Regions from separate parts of the Homo sapiens genome. Here regions 2 and 3 are each linked to region 1. Evidence: promoter capture Hi-C in 16 types of primary human blood cells and fetal thymus (Javierre and others, 2016). All regions are on one chromosome and are shown on one strand. The core of a region is centred on a gene start or on the middle of the fragment in contact, and the rest is flanking DNA. Distances in the headings are between cores, read along the strand shown.

Region 1 (4,127 bases), core at 1,063-3,562:
CCTGCCAGGAGTGAGCATGCAGACATTATGCATCAGATGTTGAAGTCTTAGAAACTCCCTCCAACCCCTCCAGCCTACACCCAGCTCAGGGCTCAGGCTCAATGATGAAAAGAGGGACTCTATTCACTTCAGGGTGGAGTAGGGGCCTAGAGAAAAGGAAAGATCAGAATGAGCTGTTCTAGGGTGAGGCATTCTTGCGGGGAAGGGGCACAAAGGTGATAACACTTATTTAACTTGCTATGTGCCAGGTACTATTTTAAAGTCCTTGCTGTAATGATCATTTAATCATCTTAATAACTCTCTAGAGTAGGTGGTATTATTGCCTTCATTTTAAATAAAGAAACAGAAAGTTAGGTGACCTGCCCAAGATCATGCAGTGGTAAGTGGTGACACTGAGATTCAAGCCCATGTTGGTATTTATATTATAGTGCCTCAAAGGAGGAAGCAAAACGGTTTTCTAGACAGGGGACACAGCCGATACAATGGCATGGTGGTGGGAAGGGATATTCTCCTAGGGGGACGAACCTACCTGTTGTAGCTGCCACTGGTTCTGGACTGCTCTGCGTTTCTCCATGGCCATTTGTTTCTACAGATAAGCAAGGGAGAAAGACCAAGAGAAGTCTATTTTTTCTGGCTAGAATTTTGGGAGATTGCAAGCTGGCACAACTCAGCTTGCTCACTCTTTCCCTCTTCCTTTCTAACTGCCCTTCCCTCCCTGTACTCAAGACCCCTGGGTGTACCTTGGCCTGGAGCTGCTCAAAGGCTTCCCGGAGTTGTGTCCGTTTCCTCTGGGCTTCCTCCATCTGAGTCAGGGCCTTGGTGAGGCCAATTTTGATGGCCTCTACGTGCTCCCTGTAGGTGGCCTTCAGCTCTTTCCATTGTTCCTTAGCTGCAATTGCCTTCTGTCCTGAGATGAGCCACCAGGAATGAGTACATGAGTGAGGGTGGCCTGCTAGCCTGCCTCCCTGCAACACTGGGCCTCCTTCCCATCAGCCAAATGGGAGACCTAACTGAAATCCTCCTTCCTTCCCCACTCAGGTCAGCTGCTACTACAATCCCCTGCCTACTCACGGCTCGTGTCTTCAGAAGCCAAGGGGTCGAGACCCTTAGCAGTGTCCTCCTGAGCCAGGATGTTCTGCAGGAAATCCGCTACCTGAAGCTGGCTGCAGAGCAGCTTGTCTTTCTTCTGAGAGTCCTGCTCAGAGGGAGGGCAGAGACAGGGAACATCCTTACCTCCTTACAGGTTTCCTTAAGTCTGCTCTCTGCCAGTGCTGCCCTGTATCTCAGTAAGAGGAGCCAGGACCAGACCCTGGCTTCTGAAAGGCTCGCTCTCATCTTGTACATACCACCACAAACTCAACCAGGATCTTGGCTGGCAGTTCTGCCTCCTCCTGCAGGCCTACAGGTTCCAAGATGCCTGCCACCTCAGCCAGGACCCTGGAGGGGCAAGGAAACACAGGAAATTGCAGTTTCTTGTGGTGCTAGTTCTACAGTTCGTGTGTGTACACAAACAAATGTGGATGTGTATATCAGTATATATAGTATTGAGAGTCTTGCCTTGACCAGAGTTTACACAAGGGCCTGAAGGGTCCACAGCCTGCAACCAGGAATGGCGTGCATGGAGGGCACACGGTGGTAATACGTGCCAAAAGGAAAATCAGCAGGGCTAGTGGATAAGGAGTTTGAGAAAAGAGCTGAAATTTTAAATAGGGAGTGTCTCACTGAAGAGAAATCATTTGAGTCAAGATGTGAAGGAAGCCAGGGAGATATGCAAGGAAGGGGAAGAATGCTGGGCCTTGGGATCCCTCCTGGCGCTGAGCACCAGCCTTGGGGCAGAGTCTTGGAATAGCTGAGAAAGGACTCAGGGCAGAGGGCTGGATGCCTCGGTCTACTCTAGGGTTTTTCATTATTAGGGACTGGAGCAATCTACGAAGGGGCAGGGATGGGGATGAGAAGTGACTGGGAATGTGTCGTGTTGGGACAAGAAGACAGAAGTGAAACCGTCTCCTAGAGCACATCCTGTGGATTATGTGGATGTGGGGAGCGGCGAACGGTCCCCCAAAGGCTGTACTCCTGGAGCAGGCAACAGACACCTCAGGAACCTAAGACGGGACTGCGGTGAGGATCACTTCACGGCAGGGTCGAACCTCAACAGCTGTACAGGGTCGAGGGCACCAATCATTACACATAGGGGCCCACAAGGTCCTCCCAGGCCCGGCCCCAGCTGCCACTTAGCCGCAAACACTTACTCTAGGGCTGCAGCTTCCGCCTCTGTCTCCGCTGCCTCCATCTTTCCAGGCGCCGAGTTCAGCTGCCTTCCCACAATCCCTAAGATTACTTTGAAGTCACAGTCGACTTCGCGCCGGGGCAGGCGATTGGCTGCAGAGGTTAGTGGGCGGGCATCAAGGACCATTGTGCGCTCTAATTGGCAGGCGCGGATTCGCTCGTTGGCGGGCCTCGCTGCTTGGCGCAAGCGCGGTTATGGCTAGGCGCGCACGGGCTCTGCGCCTGCGCGCTAGTCCTTACGCGGTGCCAGAGACTATAAGTGGGCTTGAGCTCGACCGCGCGCCTGTGGAAGTTCTTTCTCTACTCGAAAAAGGGAAAGCATTTCCTTGAGTTTGCGTTTTAAGGGAAACTTACAGCATTGACACTTTATTTAAAATATTCACTACTGCTGTAGAAAAAAAAAAACAAAACCCCGAAAAACAGTGGGGCTGTTTCTAAGACGCTGGGAATCAGTAAAGAATAGTGATCCGGGAGATACAGGAAGCAAATGATCTGCGCTCAAAAAGCGAGCTGCTTTCAAAGATATTAGTATTTTATAGATGCGATGCAGGAGAGTGAACTCAAGCAGAGCCCAGCCGATTGCCTGCGTTGGCAAAATAGAACAGATATTCTGGGGAGACCAAGGTAGGTAATGTTCTTTGCAGAGTACAGGAGAAAGATAACTGCTGAGAGAGAACTTGGTATTCATTCAGCTGAGTACTGAGCAGTATGTGTCTCAAGAAACTAGCTAAAAGATTTTTAAAGATACCAGGACATGGCCGGTCGCGGTGGCTCACGTCTGTAATCCCAGCACTTTGTGAGTCTGAGGCAGGTGAATTACGAGGTCAGGAGTTTGAGACCAGCCTGGCCAACATGGTGAAACCCCCGTCTCTACTAAAAGTACAAAAAAAATTAGTTGGGCGTGGTGGTGGGCGCTTGTAATCCCAGCTATTCGGGAGGCTGAGGCAGGAGAATTGCTTGAACCAGGGAGGCTGAGGTTGCAGTTAGCCGAAATTGCGCCACAGCACTACAGCCCTGGTGACAGTGCGAGACTCCGTCTCACAAAAAAAAAAAAATACATATATATATATATATAAATATATATATATGGACATTACAGAGGGTCAGAAATAGTCTCTATTTCCACTAACCAGGCTGGAAAACTTCATAGTCCGTAGGACACTGGACAGAGTACACACAAAAAAGTCTTGATTTGATAGTTGTTTACTAATTATTTAGTAGGCAGTAATTAGTCCTAGCTGATCAGTGCTGTAGTGCCATCTAACTCTTAAAAGTAAGACCCAAATGGATCAAACTTAACAAACCATGACAGATGACAAGACCAAACTTCAGCAGTATTTATAGAAATAGAAAAATGTTCACCAAAGGTGCAATTTACATATGTCATACAAAGAAAAATTACCAAGCTTGCAAAAAGAAAAAAAAAAACACATAATGAGGAGAAAAATCAATTGCTGATCAGAACTGAAGTAATGTTAGAATCAACAGGCAAGGACATTAAAACAGTTATTGTAACTATATCCCATATCTTCAAAAAGATATCAGAACTATAATGAAAAAGGTAAGTGGTGCTAAGGATGTAAAGAAAGTGGAATTCTCATGTTGATGGAAATGTAAACTGGTGCATAGGCTTTGAACGTAGGGTTACCATATGAGTCACAATTTCATTCCTAGTTATATATCCAAGACAAATAAAAACATGGGGACACAAAAGTACACAAACCTCTATAGCAGCATTATTCACAAAAGCTGAAAGGTAAAAACAACCCAAAGGCCCATTAGCTGGTGAGTGAAAATGCATACTTTCATTCAATGAAGTATTAATCAGTAGTAAAGAGAAC
Region 2 (4,127 bases), core at 679-3,178, 1.9 Mb after region 1:
AAGCAGGGATGAATTTAAACAGAAACAAATGAACCCAACTGTATTTCAAATGAATACTACTACTGCGAAAAGGGAGAAAAAGAAATAACAACCAAAAACAAAAAACCTAATCCAACTAACTTTTGTTTGTTTTTTTTTTTTTAGACAGTCTTGCTCTGTCACCCAGGCTGGAGTGCAGTGGCACAGTCTCGGCTCACTGCAACCTCCGCTCCCAGGTTCATGTGATTCTCCTGCCTCAGCCTCCTGAGTAGCTGGGACTATAGGCGCCACCAACACATCCGGCTAATTTTTGCATTTTTTGTAGAGACAGGGTTTTGCCATGTTGGCCAGGCTGGTCTCAACCTCCTGGCCTTGGCCTCCCAAAGTGCTGGGATTACAGGCATGAGCCACCGTGCCCAGCCCCAAGTAATTTTTGAACACAGTTTATACCCTCAGTATAAGAAAATCTCATCCTGAATTCATGAGTTGATGTCCTTTGTAGCGACATGGATGAAACTGGAAACCATCATTCTGAACAAACTATCGCAAGGACAGAAAACCAAACACCGCATGTTCTCACTCATAGGTGGGAACTGAACAACGAGAACACTTGGACACAGGGCAGGGAACATCACACACCGGGGCCTGTCGTGGGGTTGGGGGGATGGGGGAGGGATAGCATTAGGAGAAATACCTAATGTAAATGACTAGTTAACGAGTGCAGCAAACCAACACTGCACATGTATACATATGTAACAAACCTGCACGTTGTGCACATGTACCCCAGAACTTAAAGTATAATAAATAAATAAAAAAATCTCATCCTGAATTCTTTATTCTAGGCTTGTTTTCTGAAGTAGTATGGGTGTAGAAATTCTGAAAATTGTAAGATTAAGCAAAAGAATAAACATATTAATATCACTGGGAGCCAGGGTTCTTACTACAGAAGAAGGGAAATACAAATTTAGAATCAAGGGAAAGGAAGAACTCGGGTTTAAATGAAATTTGAAATATGAAATTATAATTTCTAAAATATTTATACATACTTTAAAAATCATGTCCATTGAAAAGTCCTGGAAGAAATGATACTCCAACAGTTATGACAATACCTAGTAACACAGATCTTGGTTTCTAAATACCATTTTCCACTAAAAAGAAACCAGGGCTCCTTGAAGAAATGGTTGACTCTAGGGCTGGGGAAGAAAGTTATGAGATAATTCTAAAAAATCTGTTATGACAGAAAGGAAGTGCTCTCAATGGTCAAATTTGGGACCATTTGAGCAACAAAATAAATAAGTTCCTTTTTTAAAAACATTGAGATGTGATTAAAGTCCAATAAATAAGTTCCATAATGGGTAATGATACATGTTATCAAATAGGAATCCATGATGCAAACTGATTATAAATAAGGACATAAATACTTAAGGGTAAAGGAAGAGCTATTTCTTGGAATGCTAGCTGTTAAAGCAGAGGGAGTGAAAGAATGGGGGGAAAAAATCACAATTTTGTAACTATCAGAATAAACACAGCTTCAGGCAAGAATCAACAGATGCCAAATCTAGGGATGAAGTTGATGAGAATCCAGATAGCTGCATGACTGTAAAGTGTCTCCTCACATATAGCTTATTAAATGTAGAACAGAAAACATTAACTATATACTGAAGCCAGGCATGGTGACTCATTCCTGTAATCCTAGCACTTTGGGAGGCTGAAGCAGAAGGATCACTTGAAGCCAGTAGTTCAAGACCAGCCTGGGCAACAAAGCCAGATCCCATCTCTACAAAAAATTTTAAAATTAGCCTGGCCCAGCAGTGGTTCATGCCTGTAATCCCAGCACTTTGGCAGGCAGAGGTGGGTGGATCACCTGAGGCCAGGAGCTCAAGACCAGCCTGGCCAACATGGCAAAACCCCGTCTCTACTAAAAATACAAAAATTAGCCAGGCATGGTGGTGCACTCCTGTAATCCTAGCTACTTAAGAGGCTGAGGCACGAGAATCACTTGAACCTGGGAGGCGGAGGTTGCAGTGAGTCAAGACCGCGCCACTGTTCTCCAGCCTGGGCAACAGAGCAAGACTCCGTTAAAAAAAAAAAAAATTAGCCTGGCCTAGTGGTGTGCACCTATACTCCCGGCTACTCAGGAGGCTGAGGCAGGAGGATTGCTTGAGCCCTGAAGTTTGAGGCTGCAGTGAACTACATCACGCCACTGCACTCCAGCCTAGGTGACACAGCAAGAGCCTGTCTCAAAAAACAAACAAACAAAACGATATACTGAAGAAGCCAGACTACACTTGAATCAGACAACCAGAAATAATCCACTACCAAAGGGCAGCTATTGTTGGCCTCCACTTACACAATGTTCCAGCTGGAAAAGTATCATCTGAATCCCATCGTAAGGAACTATCAGAAACCCAAATTAAAGAACATTTCATAAAATAACTGGCCTGTACTCTTCAAAATGACAATGTCATAAAGGACAGGGAAAGGCTGAGGATATGTTACAAATGAAAGGACACTAAAAGACATAACAACTAATTGCAATAAATGATTCTGGACCAGATCCTGTACTGAGAAAAACAAATGTGATAAAAGACATTACAGTATTGGAACAGTTGACAAAGTGAGACTATGGACTATAGATTAAAGTATTATATCCCTGTTAAATTTCCCATAGTTGATCAATGTGCTGTGGCTACAGAAGAGAATATCCTTGTTCTTAAGGAAGACACACTTTAGTATTAACATGTAAAGTGGCATAATGTATGCAACCTACTTGCAAATAGTTAAGAAAAATTATTTGCATTGAGAGATAATAAAACAAATTTTGCAAAATGTTACTTTTCTATTGTTCTTGCAACTTTTCTGTAGGCTTGAAATTATTTTAGGTTAATTAGTTTCAGAGGATATCTAATAAAAAGAGACTACTAAGCCAAGATAATTGTAGGTCTTTCTCCCCCACAACAATTATCAGTTTAAATCCTTGTTTTCCCTATAGACTACCCCATTTCTACATCCTACATCAGATCAAGAAATATCAGATTTCCATCATTTGTTTAAAACTTTAAGGACTTTTTAAAGAACTTAATGATACATATTAAAAGAATTTTATGCTAACTTTGGTGAGTTTTGGGAATTTATATTGATCTTTTTTTTGCGAAAACTTCCTACAGAGATAGGTACACAACGTGCAAGGTATGCTATTATATACAAGAATGTTTAATAAGTACATTACTTATCACAGCAAACAAATGGTGAAAAGTCTAAAAATCTATGATTACAGAAATAGTTAAATAAATTGTGATACATCCACATTGTAGAACACAATTTTTAGAAAGAATAAAGTATACCGTAAGTGCAAAAATATAGGTATAATACATGATATAATACAGAATGAGAAAAGTTGCTGATAGATTTATTTGTATAAAAAAACAGAACCGCGCTAATGTGTTTATGTATGTGCCCAGAAACAAAGGCCTGAAAGGATAGACAGGAAGTAGTTACCAGTGATTGCCCCTGGGAGAATGAGTAGGGGGAAGGGCACTACTTAAACTGAATTTTTTTCCTAAAAGATCCGTGTACTATACAATTTTTACAGTTTAAAAAACAAAATACTTTGTATTCTTAGAACTAAGATTTAAATGTATTTTGATGAAATATGGTTTCAGTGAAGAACACAAAATATAACGGATGTCTGAACTACTAATATATGCTTGTTACTTAGCATATATAACAAGATCTATTTTTCTGTTCAAGCACCTTTGTTCTATCAAGTTCCATGAGTTTAATTTTTAAACTAACAAAGCCAACAACTCCTTTTTGGAAATAGGTAAAATAATTCTAAATGGAACATTTCTGGTTACTTACTGATAGTAACACAAATTTAAAAACAAAACAAATACCAACATAACGTCCTTAACAAAGCTTATCCTGAGAATTATTTCAATTGACAGACCAAAGCATGATCTAAATGATGTAAACTGTACATGACTTATGACAGTGGAGAAACATAATAAAACTGTTGAACTTTGAATTAGTGACCATCTTATCCATTTTACAAATAGGGAATATATCATCAGTCAAGTATCCTTTTACTTAACAATACAGTCAGGATTGTATAACTATCTGAGAATTAAATTCAACAAATATTAGGT
Region 3 (4,127 bases), core at 1,184-3,683, 1.9 Mb after region 1:
GGCGTGATCTCGGCTCGCTACAACCTCCACCTCCCAGCCGCGTGCCTTGGCCTCCCAAAGTGCTAAGATTACAGCCTCTGCCCACCCGCCACCCCATCTAGGAAGTGAGCAGCATCTCTGCCTGGCCGCCCATCGTCTGGGATGTGAGGAGACCCTCTGCCCGGCCGCCCCATCTGGGAAGTGAGGAGCGCCTCTGCCCGGCCACCACCCCGTCTAGGAAGTGAGGAGCGTCTCTGCCCGACCGCCCATCGTCTGGGATGTGAGGAGTGCCTCTGCCTGGCGCGCCGCCCCGTCTGGGAGGGGAAGGGCGTCTCTGCCCGGCTGCCCCGCCTGGGAAGTGAGGGGCACCTCTGCCCGGCCGCTCTTCGTCTGGGAGGTGGGGAACGTCTCTGCCCGGCCGCCCCGTCTGGGAAGTGGGCGCCTCTGCCTGGCCACCCTGTCTGGGAGGTGAGGGGCGTCTCTGCCCGGCCGCCCCGTCTGGGAGGTGAGGAGCGCCTCTGCCCGGCCGCCCCACCTGGGAGGTGAGGAGCGCCTATGCCCGGCTGCCCTTGGTCTGGGAGGTGGGGAGCGCGTCTGCCCAGCCGCCCCGTCGGGGAAGTGGGCGCCTCTGCCCAGGCCGCCCCGTCTGGGAAGTGAGGAGCGCCTCTGCCCGGCCGCCCCCTCTGGGAAGTGGGGGGTGCCTCTGCCCGGCCGCTCCTCGTCTGGGAGGTGGGGAGCGCCTCCGCCCAGCCACCCCGTCTGGGAGGTGAGGAGCACCTCTGCCCGGCCGCCGCCCCGTCTGGGAAGTGAGGAGCGCCTCTGCCAGGCCGTCCCGTCTGGGAAGTGTACCCAACAGCTCCGAAGAGACAGCGACCATCAAGAACAGGCCATGATGACGATGGTGGTTTTGTCGAAAAAAAAGAAAAGGGGGAAATGTGGGGAAAAGAAAGAGAGATCAGATTGTTACTGTGTCTGTGTAGAAAGAAGTAGACATAGGAGACTCCATTTTGTTCTGTACTAAGAAAAATTCTTCTGCCTTGGGATGCTGTTAATCTATAACCTTACCCCCAACCCCCTGCTCTCTGAAACATGTGCTGTGTCAACTCAGGGTTAAATGGATTAAGGGCGGTGCACGATGTGCTTGGTTAAACAGATGCTTGAAGACAGCATGCTCATTAAGAGTCATCACCACTCCCTAATCTCAAGTACCCAGGGACACAAACAGGGCCAAAGGCCGCAGGGACCTCTGCCTAGGAAAACCAGAGACCTTTGTTCTCATGTTTATCTGCTGACCTTCTCTCCACTATTATCCTATGACCCTGCCACATCCCCCTCTCTGAGAAACACCCAAGAATGATCAATAAATACTAAAAAAAAAAAAATAATAAAATAAACAAATTAAAATAAAAAAATTAAAAAATACAAAAAGGAAAATTATGTCTTATGCTAAAGCATGGATAAAACTTAAAGACATTATGCTAAGTGAAATAAGCCAGTGTAACAAAAAGATAAATACTACATGATTACACTTATAGGAGATATTTAAAGCAGTTAAATTCTTAGAAAACAGAAAATAGAATGATAGCTGCCAGGGGCCAGGAGAAGGGAGAAAAGAGTTGTTCAGTGGACATGAGTTTTAAAAGATGAAAAAGTAGGCTAGAAAATAATGGCTCATGCCTATAATCCCAGTACTCTGGGAGGCCAAGACAGCCGGATCACGAGGTCAGGAGTTCAAAACCATCCTGGCCATCATAGTGGAACCCCGTCTCTACTGAAAGCACAAAAATTAGCCAGGGGTGGTACCACATGCCTGTAATCCCAACTACTCGGGAGGCTGGGGTAGGACAATCGCTTGAACACAGGAGGCGGATGCTACAGTGAGCTGAGGTCATGCCACTGCACTCCAGCCTGGGTGACAGAGGAAGACTCTGTCTCAAAAAAAAAAAAAAGATGAAAAAGTCCCAGAGAGACGTATCTCAAAATAATAAGAGTTATCTATGACAAACCCACAGCCAATATCATACTGAATGGGCAAAAACTGGAAGCATTCCCTTTGAAAACTGGCACAAGACAGGGATGCCCTCTCTCACCACTCCTATTCAACATAGTGTTGAAAGTTCTGGCCAGGGCAATGAGGCAGGAGAAGGAAATAAAGGGTATTCAGTTAGGAAAAGAGGAAGTCAAATTGTCCCTGTTTGCAGACGACATGATTGTATATTTAGAAAACCCCACTGTCTCAGCCCAAATCTCCGTAAGCTGATAAGCAACTTCAGCAAAGTCTCAGGATACAAAATCAACGTACAAAAATCACAAGCATTCTTATACACCAACAACAGACAAACAGAGAGCCAAATCATGAGTGAACTCCCATTCACAATTGCTTCAAAGAGAATAAAATACCTAGGAATCCAACTTACAAGGGATGTGAAGGACCTCTTCAAGGAGAACTACAAACCACTGCTCAAGGAAATAAAAGAGGATACAAACAAATGGAAGAACACTGCATGCTCATGGGTAGGAAGAATCAATATCGTGAAAATGGCCATACTGCCCAAGGTAATTTACAGATTCAATGCCATCCTCATCAAGCTACCAATGACTTTCTTCACAGAATTGGAAAAAGCTACTTTAAAGTTCATATGGAACCAAAAAAGAGTCCGCATCGCCAAGTCAATCCTAAGCCAAAAGAACAAAGCTAGAGGCATCACACTACCTGACTTCAAACTATACTACAAGGCTACAGTAACCAAAACAGCATGGTACTGGTACCAAAACACAGATATAGATCAATGGAACAGAAAAGAGCCCTCAGAAATAACGCCGCATATCTACAACTATCCGATCTTTGACAAACCTGATAAAAACAAGCAATGGGGAAAGGATTCCCTATTGAATAAATGGTGCTGGGAAAACTGGCTAGCCATATGTAGAAAGCTGAAACTGGATCCCTTCTTTACACCTTATACAAAAATCAATTCAAGATGGATTAAAGACTTAAACGCTAGACCTAAAACCATAAAAACCCTAGAAGAAAACCTAGGCATTACCATTCAGGACACAGGCATGGGCAAGGACTTCATGTCTAAAACACTAAAAGCAATGGCAACAAAAGCCAAAATTGACAAATGGGATCTAATTAAAATAAAGAGCTTCTGCACAGCAAAAGACACTACCATCAGAGTGAACAAGCAACCTACAAAATGGGAGAAAATTTTCGCAACCTACTCATCTGACAAAGGGCTAATATCCAGAATCCACAATGAACTCAAACAAATTTACAAGAAAAAAACAAACAACCCCATCAAAAAGTAGGCAAAGGACATGAACAGACACTTCTCAAAAGAAGACATTTATGCAGCCAAAAGACACATGAAAAAATGCTCACCATCACTGGCCATCAGAGAAATGCAAATCAAAACCACAATGAGAGACCATTTCACACCAGTTAGAATGGCAATCATTAAAAAGTCAGGAAACAACAGGTACTGGAGAGGATGTGGAGAAATAGGAACACTTTTACACTGTTGCTGGGACTGTAAACTAGTTCAACCATTGTGGAAGTCAGTGTGGCGATTCCTCAGGGATCTAGAACTAGAAATACCATTTGACCCAGCCATCCCATTACTGGGTATATACCCAAAGGATTATAAATCATGCTGCTATAAAGACACATGCACACGTATGTTTATCGCGGCATTATTCACAATAGCAAAGACTTGGAACCAACCCAAATGTCCAACAATGATAGACTGGATTAAGAAAATGTGGCACATATACACCATGGAATACTATGCAGCCATAAAAAATGATGAGTTCATGTCCTTTGTAGGGACATGGATGAAATTGGAAATCATCATTCTCAGTAAACTATCACAAGAACAAAAAACCAAACACCACATATTCTTACTCATAGGTGGGAACTGAACAATGAGAACACATGGACACAGGAAGGGGAACATCACACTCTGGGGACTGTTGTGGGGTGGGAGGAGGGGTGAGGGATAGCATTGGGAGATATACCTAATGCTAGATGGCGAGTTAGTGAGTGCAGCACAACAGCATGGCACATGTATACATATGTAACTAACCTGCACATTGTGCACATGTACCCTAAAACTTAAAGTATAACAATAAATAAATAAATAAAA

Evidence for each region. The method cuts DNA at HindIII sites, captures the fragments that hold promoters and counts their contacts. A CHiCAGO score of 5 or more calls a contact.
Region 2: a fragment that was not itself captured here is called in contact with the fragment with the promoter of ZWINT in region 1 in 1 of 17 cell types (fetal thymus); the score reaches 5.9 in fetal thymus.
Region 3: a contact is called between a fragment that was not itself captured here and the fragment with the promoter of ZWINT in region 1, in 1 of 17 cell types (non-activated CD4 T cells). The highest score is 7.2, in non-activated CD4 T cells.

What each region holds. Positions count from the first base shown.
Region 1 is chr10:56,358,947-56,363,073 of GRCh38, forward strand. ZWINT (ZW10 interacting kinetochore protein) reads right to left here and starts at 2,313. Exons shown (of 9, transcript NM_007057.4): 1 at 2,250-2,313; 2 at 1,347-1,437; 3 at 1,072-1,195; 4 at 741-907; 5 at 530-586; 6 at 1. The coding sequence starts at 2,290. LOC124902546 (a long non-coding RNA gene) reads left to right here and starts at 2,513. Exons shown (of 2, transcript XR_007062372.1): 1 at 2,513-2,910. RefSeq lists enhancers at 198-1,397, 543-1,283, 2,023-2,762, 2,111-2,280 and a silencer at 2,371-2,580. The HindIII fragment of the contact is 11,189 bases long and covers 1-3,690 here.
Region 2 is chr10:58,261,463-58,265,589 of GRCh38, forward strand. The region is part of intron 1 of IPMK (inositol polyphosphate multikinase); the gene reads right to left. Among named protein-coding and RNA genes, the nearest start is that of IPMK, 4.4 kb to the right of the region's middle. The HindIII fragment of the contact is 3,933 bases long and covers 1-3,895 here.
Region 3 is chr10:58,243,698-58,247,824 of GRCh38, forward strand. The region is part of intron 1 of IPMK (inositol polyphosphate multikinase); the gene reads right to left. Among named protein-coding and RNA genes, the nearest start is that of IPMK, 22 kb to the right of the region's middle. The HindIII fragment of the contact is 7,112 bases long and covers 1-4,127 here.